Regions from separate parts of the Homo sapiens genome. Here region 1 is linked to region 2. Evidence: promoter capture Hi-C in 16 types of primary human blood cells and fetal thymus (Javierre and others, 2016). All regions are on one chromosome and are shown on one strand. Each heading gives the region's core, a stretch centred on a gene start or on the middle of the fragment in contact. The rest is flanking DNA. Distances are from core to core; before and after follow the strand shown. Region 1 overlaps RASSF4 (Ras association domain family member 4). Region 2 holds the start of CSGALNACT2 (chondroitin sulfate N-acetylgalactosaminyltransferase 2).

Evidence for each region. Contacts are between HindIII fragments. The CHiCAGO score rates a contact against its expected background, and 5 or more counts as called.
Region 1: a fragment that was not itself captured here is called in contact with the fragment with the promoter of CSGALNACT2 in region 2 in 1 of 17 cell types (M0 macrophages); the score reaches 5.3 in M0 macrophages.

The regions. Positions count from the first base shown.
Region 1 is chr10:44,986,556-44,992,034 of GRCh38, reverse strand. It overlaps RASSF4 (Ras association domain family member 4), which reads right to left. Exons shown (of 11, transcript NM_032023.4): 7 at 2,660-2,761; 8 at 2,314-2,365; 9 at 966-1,087; 10 at 33-130. Among named protein-coding and RNA genes, the nearest start is that of DEPP1, 10 kb to the right of the region's middle. RefSeq lists enhancers at 1-312, 342-1,033. The HindIII fragment of the contact is 6,881 bases long and covers 1-5,479 here.
Region 2 is chr10:43,136,423-43,142,040 of GRCh38, reverse strand. It overlaps CSGALNACT2 (chondroitin sulfate N-acetylgalactosaminyltransferase 2), which reads right to left and starts at 3,596. Exons shown (of 8, transcript NM_018590.5): 1 at 3,474-3,596. CSGALNACT2-DT (CSGALNACT2 divergent transcript) reads left to right here and starts at 3,648. Exons shown (of 1, transcript NR_186456.1): 1 at 3,648-5,217. RefSeq lists silencers at 3,060-3,129, 3,240-3,739, 3,910-3,969, 4,100-4,299. The HindIII fragment of the contact is 5,511 bases long and covers 2,924-5,618 here.

The DNA of each region.
Region 1 (5,479 bases), core at 1,903-4,402, 1.9 Mb before region 2:
GACCCATGACTGTCTGTTTAAGTGCTGCTTACTTCATGGTCAGTTTGATTATTTCTCTTTCTTCCTCTTCTTTTAATTTTTCAACAAAACTGTCCAGCACCGGCATTTCAAACTTAATGTACTGAGCGACCTAGAAAATCCAAGAACATTTTAATGTGCTTTAAATTCGAAGCCAAAAGTATGTTTTCTTTTCCTCAAGGCTTCCATAGTGGCCCATCCAGCCAACATCTTGTATCCACAGAAGGAGCTGCCGCTTTTCCCACCCCACCCCCACACTGCTGTGTTGTGTACAGATGCCAGGACGGGAGCCTATTACTATCTCAAAGGCAACTGTTATCCCTGGGAGGAAATATTAAACTGAATATTAGGAAGAGCATTCAGTACAGCAGCATTGTCACATTGGGTGCCCTCTGGGCTAGGGGGTAGGGAGGTGGGAGCACCATTGTTTCTAACAATGGAATGCAATTGCAGCAGCCTGAGGGATACGGGGTCACTAGGCCTCCTACTTGAGGTTCAAACCCTGTAAGCATCTTCTATGCAGAGGAGTTTGGAAATGCACTCACTGTCTGGTCAGAACTCAGGCTGTTGGTAAGACTTAAATATCTCCCTGTTTTCCACAGGTGCGAGGTAGGGCCTAGTTAAAAAGCCTTTGCATAGGTCTCTCACATAATGACAACAAAATACATTCCAATGAAGGAAAAGACTTTACTTCCCTAGAGGAAAAGGACAGGCCATGGTTTTATAGGACCCAAATTCTTCTTTCCCCTAAGCTGCTGGTGCTGGCGGTCACTGATGGGAGAGGGAGGGCTGGCGCCTCCCTGTGCTAGGCTGGGAGCCCTTTGGGAGAGTGTGGAGCTCCTGGAGACATCAACTGACAGGGCTCTGGCCAGGAGTCCTTGGGAGGCCCCGTCACCCAAGAACCCCTCACCCTAGAGCAGGCCTCCCCAGCCTTGGCCCCCACTCACTTCATGGGGGACTTCCACGCCCAAGTCAGCTTCCATCAGGAAGATCCTGGCGATCTTCTCACATGGCCCATGCAGGATTCTGGAAATCAGCGGGTACTCGCAGTCTTTTAATTTTGTCCGCTCTGAAAAAGAAGGTGGTTTACAAAAATCACGGGAGATTAGGATCACCTCTGTCTGTTCCAGATTAGGAACTGATAGAAAATGTGCGTCTAGGGGCGCAGGGAACCCTAAGAACACAGACCTCGCTAACAGCGCTGCCCTGAGAGATTCCTGCTCATGCAGAAGGGAGGCAGAACAGGGCCCCCAGATCTGCCACTTTGGCATAAGGATTAAGTGGAGCGGCTGGCAATTGAGAAGAAGAAGATACAAGTGAGGCTCTTTGCCCTCCCCTATTTGCCAAAAAGCAGGACATAAATTTGTCAAGGTGTGCCCCCGTCCCTCTCTAGGCAATGATGGAGTTAATCACCAGAGACAACCCGAGCCCCTCCTCAGCCTGGAGAGGGCACCAGAGGAACCTGCACAGCACGTCCCGCTGAAGCCCTTCCCTTCCCGCAGCTCCCCGTGCGGTGACCTTCCCACCCTTCGCCTCCCCAGAAACTCAGGCCCTTCTCCTCTGTCTTGTCACTTCTCTAAAAACTTACTGCTCTTTTGTGAATATGCTATTTAAGCCCAAATTCTGACCATTCATCCCTGGATATTCCAAAGGGCATGCATGATGCAAGTGTTAACAAACTTCTGTTTGTTCTTCTCCTTAATCTGTCTTTTGTTAATCTAAATACAGGGCCCCAGCCAGTGAACCTAAATGGGTAGAAAGAGAAGATAATTTTCCTCCCCTACAGTGTCATTCAGCAAAGGTGCAGCTTGAAGAGAAACAAGATCTGAGGGGTGGGAGAAAGGAAAGCTGAGACGGGAGGGCCAGGGCCTGATGCACTGCGACACGCACCCCACCCTTCCTGACTCGGCGCCAAGGAGCTAGGTACCCACCCATCCATTTCTCTGGAAGAGGCGGAGAGGGAGGCTTCCTATAGCTTGGTGGGATTCTCCTTCAGAATCCTGAAAGAATTAAACTTAATGTACTGAGCGACCTAGAAAATCCAAGGACATTTTAATGTGCTTTAAATTCGAAGCCAAAAGTATGTTTTCTTTTCCTCAAGGCTTCCATAGTGTGCCTGGGTTTGGGTGGGGGAGAAATGTTCATGCTGGGAGGCACAGTGTGCCCTAGCCCACTAGGCAAGCCAGCACGGAGCCCATCTGGAAGGGAGTACAGTCAGTGGTTGGTGGGGAGGGGGCTTGCTGAACAGGTAGAGACCTTTTGCTTTTACGATCCAGAAGTGGGGCAGGTACTTACCCCCAGACTCGTGAACGATGTAGAGTGCGAACTCACTGGGGCCATCTTCCACCTGCACAGGCAGTCACAGGAAGTCAGATCACGGTGCTTGGAGATGGGAGAGAACTGAGAGGGTCCCCTGACAGTAACTACACCCCCAGTAACACACACGCAAGTTGCAAGGAACCTGTCCTCTCCCAACCTCCTCTTGCTTGAAATCCGAGAAACCAAAGCTCAGCAGAGGGACCCTTGCTAGACCTTCTGCCCAGGCAGCTTCTGCCACGGGCAGCTTTCCCCAGAACCCCACCCCCAACAGAATAGCAGACCACTGGCATCCTGGGGCAAGGCTGCTCCTGACCAGGCTTACCCTAAATTTGTTCAGCAGCAGGGTGAGCACCTGCAGGGTTGTCATGGTGCTGTTGACCCTCACATTGGTCACGGATCCATAGGCTGGAGTAAACACGGAGGTCTGTACCAGGAAGGGAGAGAAGTTCAGGTCAGGCCCAGAGGGGACAAGGGACTGACATCACAACGGTGAACAGACCAAGGCAGCAGGTGACGCTGAGATCTGGGAACACCTGCACCTGTCCATTCACGCTGATGCACACATAAGCTGTTCCCAGACCTGGGAGACACTCCGGGAAGCTGTAGTAGTGCACTCCTTCCAGAGGCCTAAGGAAGATGTCTACACACCCAGAAGGGCCAGCTCTCTGGACCCGAGGAACCAGGGCCATGGAAGTCATTCACAAGGGTGGGGGAATCAGTCTCTCCATCACTCTTTCTATTGATTAAGTCACCAGTTGTCTGTTGATTCTAAGGCTGAAAGTTACCCAATCTGTCTCCTCCTCTTCATTCTCCCAGCAGTGCCTAGTAGAGGCACTGATCACACCATATCAGCTTCCCAGCTTGTTCCCTTCTGGTCTCAGTCCCTCTAATCCGTAGTCTGCACCGCTGCCTACAGGAACGGACTTCTAAAACCCTTGCACCTCCAAGTGACGTCTAGCCCAGCTGCATCCATACAGTCTCGGCTCCCTTCCCTACCCTGCTCCATACCATCTGAATCAGAGTCTGCGTCTGTAGAACACAAGGCGAAGCGATCTGTGCAGTTCAATGTGAGAAGCACTGTTTGAAAGCGCGGGTCTAAAAGTATCTGAAGGCTTCCTGGGGACTGTGCAATAACATCTGTAGTTCTTCTCATTGTCTCGCACGTATGACACTATGGTTGCCTAACAAGCACCATGTGCTCCAGTCACAGAGCTTCTTCACAATTTGGCTGGGGGGTGGGGGGACACATTATATTTTTGCAGGTATCTTGCCTTTGCCTAAGAGACACCATATATGAAATCAACCAGGACTCTGCCTGACACATAATAGGTCCGTCCTCAATAAACCCTAGCTGTGTATTGAACCCGCTAAGATTTTACATACAATCATTGATTTAATATTCATAACAACCCTTTGAGGCAGCTATAACTAGTCCCCTTTTCTTAGAAAGGAATCAGAGGCTTTAGGAGGTTAACCAGCTTGTTCAGAGTTACCCACCTAGAAAAGACAGAGCCCTGACTCAAAGGATTCCATGATTCCTGAAAACCTACATGTTACCCCCCTGGTGCTGGTGCCTCCCAGCGAATGTGACTCCTCTGCAGGTGAACCTCTCCTTGCTTTTCAAACTCAAGTTTAGATTCGCATATTCCTCCTCTGAGATCCTAGCTCTGTTTTCCCAAGGAGGTAGCTAAGGCTCAGAGAGCTCAAGGACCTATTCAGTATCCCCGCTCTGATAAGTCCAGGCACACCTGGGAGCCATTGTGAGTTCAGGTCCAGACCATCACAATGAAGCGAATATCTCAATAAAGTGAGTCACACAAATGTTTTGGTTTCCCAGGGCATATACAAGATATGTTTATACTATACTGTAGTTTCTTAAGGGTGAGACAGTACTACATCTAAAAAATATGCATGCCTTAATTAAAACTACTTTATTGCTAAAAAATCTGACACAGAGACACAAAGTGAGCACATAGTGTTGGAAAACGGCACCGATAGACTTGTTCAACACAAGGTTGCCACACACCTTCAATTTGCAGAAACCGCAGGTGCAGCAAAAAAAAAAAAAAAAGTGCACATTTTTGCAAATGGAAGGTTGCTGAACAGCAACCTTCCATTTGCAAAAATCTGCAAGGTACAGTAACAAGAAGCACAATAAAATGAAGCACGCTGTGCCAGAGTCAGACTCAACCTCGACCTGCTTCCCCCAGCTCGATTCTAGTTGAGGTGCAGAATGACTGAGTTATACAGAAAGCCAGGATTAGGATTAGGCTTTCTTGTCCAAAGAAATATGGAAGAGAGGGCCAGGTGCAGTGGCTTACGCCTGTAATCCCAGCACTTTGGTAGGCAAAGGCGGGCGGATCACGAGGTCAGGAGTTCAAGACCAGTCTGGCCAATATGGTGAAACCCTGTCTCTACAAAAAATACAAAAATTAGCCAGGCATCGTGGTGCGCACCTGTAGTCCCAGCTACTCAGGAAGCAGAAGAATCGCTTGAACCTAGGAGGTGGAGGTTGCAGTGAGCCCAGATCGTGCCACTGCACTCCAGCCTGGCTACAGAGTGAGACTCCATCTCAAATAAAAAAAGAAACATGAAACAGAGGAGTTAGGCTATTTCAAAGGGACAAAAAGTCTTGTTAACAAGACACTGTGTTTCTTCTGCACGAAGCCTTTTCTCAAGATGATACCAACCAACTCCAAGTAGGAACAAAGGCCCCCTGGCTACTTTCTTATCTCTAACCACAAATGGTTTCTCTCTAACAGAACGCATTTGAATCCAATAGGTCAGGCAGTAGAAACAGCTACAAAGTTTCACCCTGTCTGGAAATAAAACCAACATTTCTGGGAATCAGAACAGTTTTGGAAAATGACTGAGTGAAGTAATGGTGCACAGTTCTAAGAAACAAAACCTGGAACTATCTCAGAAATTCAATGCTAGGAATTATTTATTTTTTCAATTGTTGCCTCTGACTCAAGGAATCTGTCCCCTCATTTCTAAGGACATTAGTTCTGTATGGATGTTGAGCGTGGTAAGAAAGGGCTTTTTGCATAGTGCTTTTCTTTGGGACTTCCCTTACCCAGGAGGTGGGGGAGCTACTGTCCCAAATGCTTAAGACACTATTCTGTGTCCTTGAAAGCAGTAC
Region 2 (5,618 bases), core at 2,347-4,846:
GGTTAAACAACATATAAGGGCACACAACCCCAATCCCTTCTGTGAGCTGGTAGGGAAGAAGAGTGGGGAACAGTCAGCAAACCTAACACATCTTTCCATAAGCTCTCAGAAAAGGCATACTTCTTGTTCGTCCCCACTGTACAGACAAAGAAACAGACCAGAGAGGGAAGGGTTGATCTATATTTGCCAGTCCTTTGTCCTCTGATACTTATTTCTCCCTGGCTCAGGATGCCCAAGACTGTGCCTGGACACTCCTACCTTCGCGATCTCTGTTATCTCTGTGGTTATTTCTTCTTTTCCTATTTCTAATGCCTCCTGGAACTCCTATTAGATGTATATTGACTCTTCTAGATCTACTTTGCATGTCATGGGTAGTCTTTCCCACTTTCTTTTTTTTTTTTTTTTTTTTTTTTTTTGAGACAGTTTCACTGTCAGCCAGGCTGAAGTGCAGTGGCAGCCTCCACTGCCTGAACAGCTGGGACGACAGGTGTGCACTACCATACTGCTAATTTTAAAAATGATTTGTGGCCAGGTGCGGTGGCTCACGCCTGTAATCCCAACACTTTGGGAGGCTGAGGCAGGTGGATCATGAGGTCAGGAGATCAAGACTATCCTGGCTAACATGGTGAAACCCGTCTCTACTAAAAATACAAAAATTAGCCGGGCATGGTGGCGGGCGCCTGTAGTCCCAGCTACTCGGGAGGCTGAGGCAGGAGAATGGCGTGAACCTGGGAGGTGGAGCTCGCAGTAAGCCGAGATGGCGCCACTGCACTCCAGCCTGGGCAACAGAGCCAGACTCCGTCTCAAAAAAAAAAAAAATTATTTGTAGAGACAGGGTCTCATTATGTTGCCTAGGCTGCTCTCAAACTCCTGGAATCCAGAGATCCTCCTGCCTCGGCCTTCCAAAGTGTTGGAATTACAGGCATGAGCCACCACACCTGGCCCTTTCCTACTTTCCATGTTTAAATATTCAAGAATCAATTGCTTTTTTTCATGGCAGCCTGTATGTGTTCAGTAGGCATAATACCTTAACAAATTTGAAGATACTAATACTTACTTTAAAGCTTTCTTTTGTCTTACATTAGCTCCACTGCTTCAGTGCCTAGTTCTGTATTTGTTTGGTCTGAAGCTTCTCTTAGATGCTACCGATTTCCCACAAATGTTTAGTGATTTTTGTTGTGTGTTCACATTATAAATGTGCTAGTAGTATCTCAGTCCATATGAAAATCACTGTACTCCTGCTGTGAATTCACATTTGTAACTAGCCCTATAATTCAATTTTACACTTATACCTAGTGCTTGTGTAGCATGACAATAACAATGTAAGTTCTTTGACTTGCAGTCCCGTGATTCTTCAATCCACTTTCAGTCATATCCTTTTGGTATTTCATTTCCTCTAAAAAACCACTAACTTGAGTAATACAGTTCTTAAGTAAATGTTATGCTAAACTTCAGAGTCAGATCCTCACCAGCTCTAACAGACTTGTCTAACAGTTAAACAAACAATGACAGTCCGACAGAAGACAGTCATAAATGTGCAATTCAAAGGGTAAATAATAACATGGTAATGAATGAATCACTTACGTCTTGAACTCATAATAGTTATGCTTTTTTAAAACCAACCTTGAATGTTATATTAGTTAAAATAACAAATTCTATTACATTAAAAAAAAGATGACTCCATGTTGGTTAAATTTTCTGCCTTTGGTTGGTAATGGTATGGTTGGTAATGACTCCATGTTGGTAATTTTCTGCTTATGCCATGACTCAGTCATTCTATAGCTGACAGAAATGCATACAGATGCTCACCAAGACATTTAATTTACAAGAATGTCCACAGTACTCTTTTTTTTTTCTTTTCTTTTTGAGACCGAGTCAGGCTCTGTCGTCCAGGCTGGAGTGCAGTGGCACGATCTCGGCTCACTGCAACCTCCACCTCCCGCCTCAGCCTCCCAAGTAGCTGGGCTTACAGGCGCCCGCCACCACGCCTGGCTAATTTTTGTATTTTTAGTAGAGATGCGGTTTCACCATGTTTGCCAGGCTGGTCTCGAACTCCTGACCAAGTGATCCACCTGCCTCGGCCTCCCCAAGCGCTGGGATAAAAGGCCTGAGCCACCACGCCAGGCCCACAGTATTCTTAATATCCAAAACACATCATATACAAAAATTGGGAACATAAATGTCCATCAACTGAAGAGTAGTCACATATTATTCAATAGACTATTACACAGTAATAATACAATACCATGAAATAGCATGGGTGTGTCCCACAAACAATATGCTGAGAATACTACGTGATTCCATTAACATGAAGCTCAAAACAGAGAAAACTAAAAGCAGATAAGAGAAGTTAGAATACAGATGGGAAAACAAGGATATAACTGACTTGGAAGAAGCACAGGAAAATAGGATGATGGAAATGTTCTATGGTTATAATTTGATATATCTGGTGGTTCCACAGGGTAATAAGTATGTAAAAATTCATTGAGCTGTACAATTAAGATTCGTGCTCTTATTGATTTCATATGTATTTTATGCCTCGACAAAAACAAAGAGAAAAATGCAGCTTCTAAACTGGTTGGAACTGTGTTTATTTAGGCCAAAATCCTCTGAGCCACAAATACTGGAAATCCATCTTTTTTCATTCTTTTAGTTACATGACAACTTTAAACAAATGGTACAAGAACAATAATACAAAATGAACGCTAACACTCAGTCCTAAAATACTTGGCTTCTTACTTCCAAGATCGAAGCTACTATTTTAATACAACATTCAAAAAACAACATTAATTACCAGACATGAAGGCCCTGCTCCCGCGAGCCTTGAATGACGGTGAAACGTCACGACATCCCATATCTATCTCAAAAGCACGCTAGAAAATACCTCCAAGTTTAACAAGCCAAGGACTCAGGAAGAGAAGCTTCAGATGTATAATCAAACTATCATACCGCCAATACCATCATCACAAACAGAAGTATCACTGTCGTGCTTCCTGCGTTGCTCAAGGGTAGAGTCATTTTTAAGGTGCATTCTCCGACAACGCCAGAGGCTCCCCATCTCCTCCGCCCCACTGAGCCCTCCACGACAGAGCATCTTTACCGGCGCTCGCTCTGCCATCTACAGATAAAGAGGGGCTGAGGGCAGAACTATTTTAACGCGATGACGAGGTCACCACTGATTAAAAAGTTTATCCACTGAGAGGAGCAGAGATGGTGATGAATAGGTAAAAACAAAACGAAACAAAACAAAACCCAACACTGACAAGCGAACCAATCGTCTCTGGCCGCGCTTTCCCTAAAACCGGTGCCGACTCCGGCAGGCTCATCCCTGAGAGACAGGGCCCCCCGCAGGACCGGTCCGCTAGGCGACCCCACCCGACCACACAGGAGCCCGCAGCCCCGGCGCCCGCACCGCCCGGGCCGGAGCCGGCGGGAGTCGCGGACCGGCGGGCGAGGCCGGGCCAGGTACTCACCGCGCTCGCCCGCTCTGCGCTCCACCGCCTCCTGCGCCGCGGGGACACCCGGGCGGCGCCTCACGCCTTGGGCCCGCCGCCGCCTCAGCCACCCACCCCCGGGCGCGCCGCCGCGCCTGAGAGGCCACTTCCGGCGCGCGCGAGGAAATGAAGCCGCCGCGCGCCCGCGGCCCCGCCCAGGAAGCTCCGCCACTGGCAGCTGGGTACCGATTCATCACCGACGTGTTTAAAGTATCCGTGTGTGTGCCTCCAAAAACCGTTTGTGGAGACAGCAGAGTGCCCGAGGCAGGAAACCGCTCCGGCCTGGAGGCGCCCCTGCCCGGACTCGTGGACTGCAGCGCTGTCCCGCTCGGAAGCCGATCCTGGGAGTCCGAGCGGGGCCGCGGGGCCTGCGTGGCAGCCGAGTCGAGGGCTTCGGGCCGCGGGGCTGTGGAGCGCCCCTTGGCGCTGGGCCGCCGGCAGCCGTGAGCGCATCACTGCATTTCCCTGGAGGAATTCCTCATCTGTTGAATGAGGGAGTTGAGGCGGACACGCTGGGAAATGGCTTCGAGCTCACACACTGATTTTCGTGAGTGGAAAGAGAAGCCCTTTCTTAGGCGTCTTCCATACCACTGCATGTTCCAGGGTCCTCCCTGGGCTCTCTGTCTCCCACGCCACCGCGAGCACGGCCTAAGCGGGCGAGCGAAGGCGCGACGGCGCCGAGAGCCGGCTGTGGTGGGTGCCGGGCGCGTCACCGCGGGCTGGCGGGGGAGGGGACGCTGGGAAGCTCTCCAGAAAGAGGAGCCGCCACCGAGCAAATTCCCATCTGCCACGCACCGCAGAGCCTCGCCCTCCGCCGCCAGCATTTTCTTTCTTTGTTCTCCTAGCCCTACAAACGCTGGGTTTCCTTTCTCATTCGTGGACTTTTTTCCCTGGATCCTTCTTACTGCTCCTACCCTGTGGCCGCACGTCTGGCAGATGCGCGGCGGGCGCTGCCTGAACCCCCGAATCCTCACAAGCCTCTGTGCAGCGGCCACGGCCCTCAGCTAGCGGCGGGGAGACTGAAGCCGCAGGGTCAGGGTTAGTTGCCACATGTTTTAAATTCCTATCCAAACTTCCATTATAATTGTTTTTATTTATTTATTCATCTATTTTTTGAGACAGGGTCCCGCTCTGTCGCCCAGGCTGGAGTGCAGTGGAGCGATCACGGTTCACTGCAGCCTCCCCACCTCCGACTCCAGCGATCCTCTCGCCTCAGCCTCCCGAGTAGCTGGGACCACAGGTGCATGCCACCATGCCCGGCTAATTGTTAATATTTTTTTTGGTAGAGATGGGGCCTCCCTCTGTTGCCTAGGCTGGCCTTGAACTCCTGGGCTCAAGCGATCTTCCAGCTTCGGCCTCCCAAAGTGCTGGCATTACAGGCGTGAGTCACCCCGCCTGGCAAGAATTGTTGTTTTGAAACTAACTGAGGTTCTCCCATCAATGGATTTAAATTGTTACTTTTTAATGATTTTTTTTTAAGTAGCCAAATACTAAATGTATGTAATTTGAATGTGGAGAGAAGATAATGCATGATTCAAATTATGTGGCTGATCATGGGTGATACACTGGGATATAGTTGTAAAATAAGTAGTTCTCCTAGGGAAAATATTAAAGTACAACTGTGTTGGGTTTAATATCAGAAAAATGTAATTAAAAACATTTCCTGCCAATAATTTCCAATCTGATACTTAAACAAAACAAAACAATAAAAGTTTCCCATCTCTTTCGGGCCTTTTAAATTTCTACCAAAAGTAAGTGATGCTGGCTGATTCCCCTGCTATAGCAAGTTGTGAATAAATAGCCTTTGCTGGTTTCCACAGTTTTCCTGGTGATCCCATGGTAAGTCTGTACTGCTTGTCCCTGAGGTCCCCAGGCTTCCACCCATTGTGCCACCCAGAGGCCCCTCATGCCTCCATGTTCTCGGCCTATCAGGTGCGCCGATGTGGTCAGCACTAGGGCTCACCTCACTCTGCGTGGAGGTCTCTGGCTATTTATTCTCAGTTTGGTACTCTGGTTTTGTTATTGATTCTCATTTGTCTGGCATCTCTAGTGGAATCAGGCCATTCTTTTTATCCCTTTTCACTGTATTTTGTGTTAGTGTTTAGTGTTGTGCTGTCAAAAAGT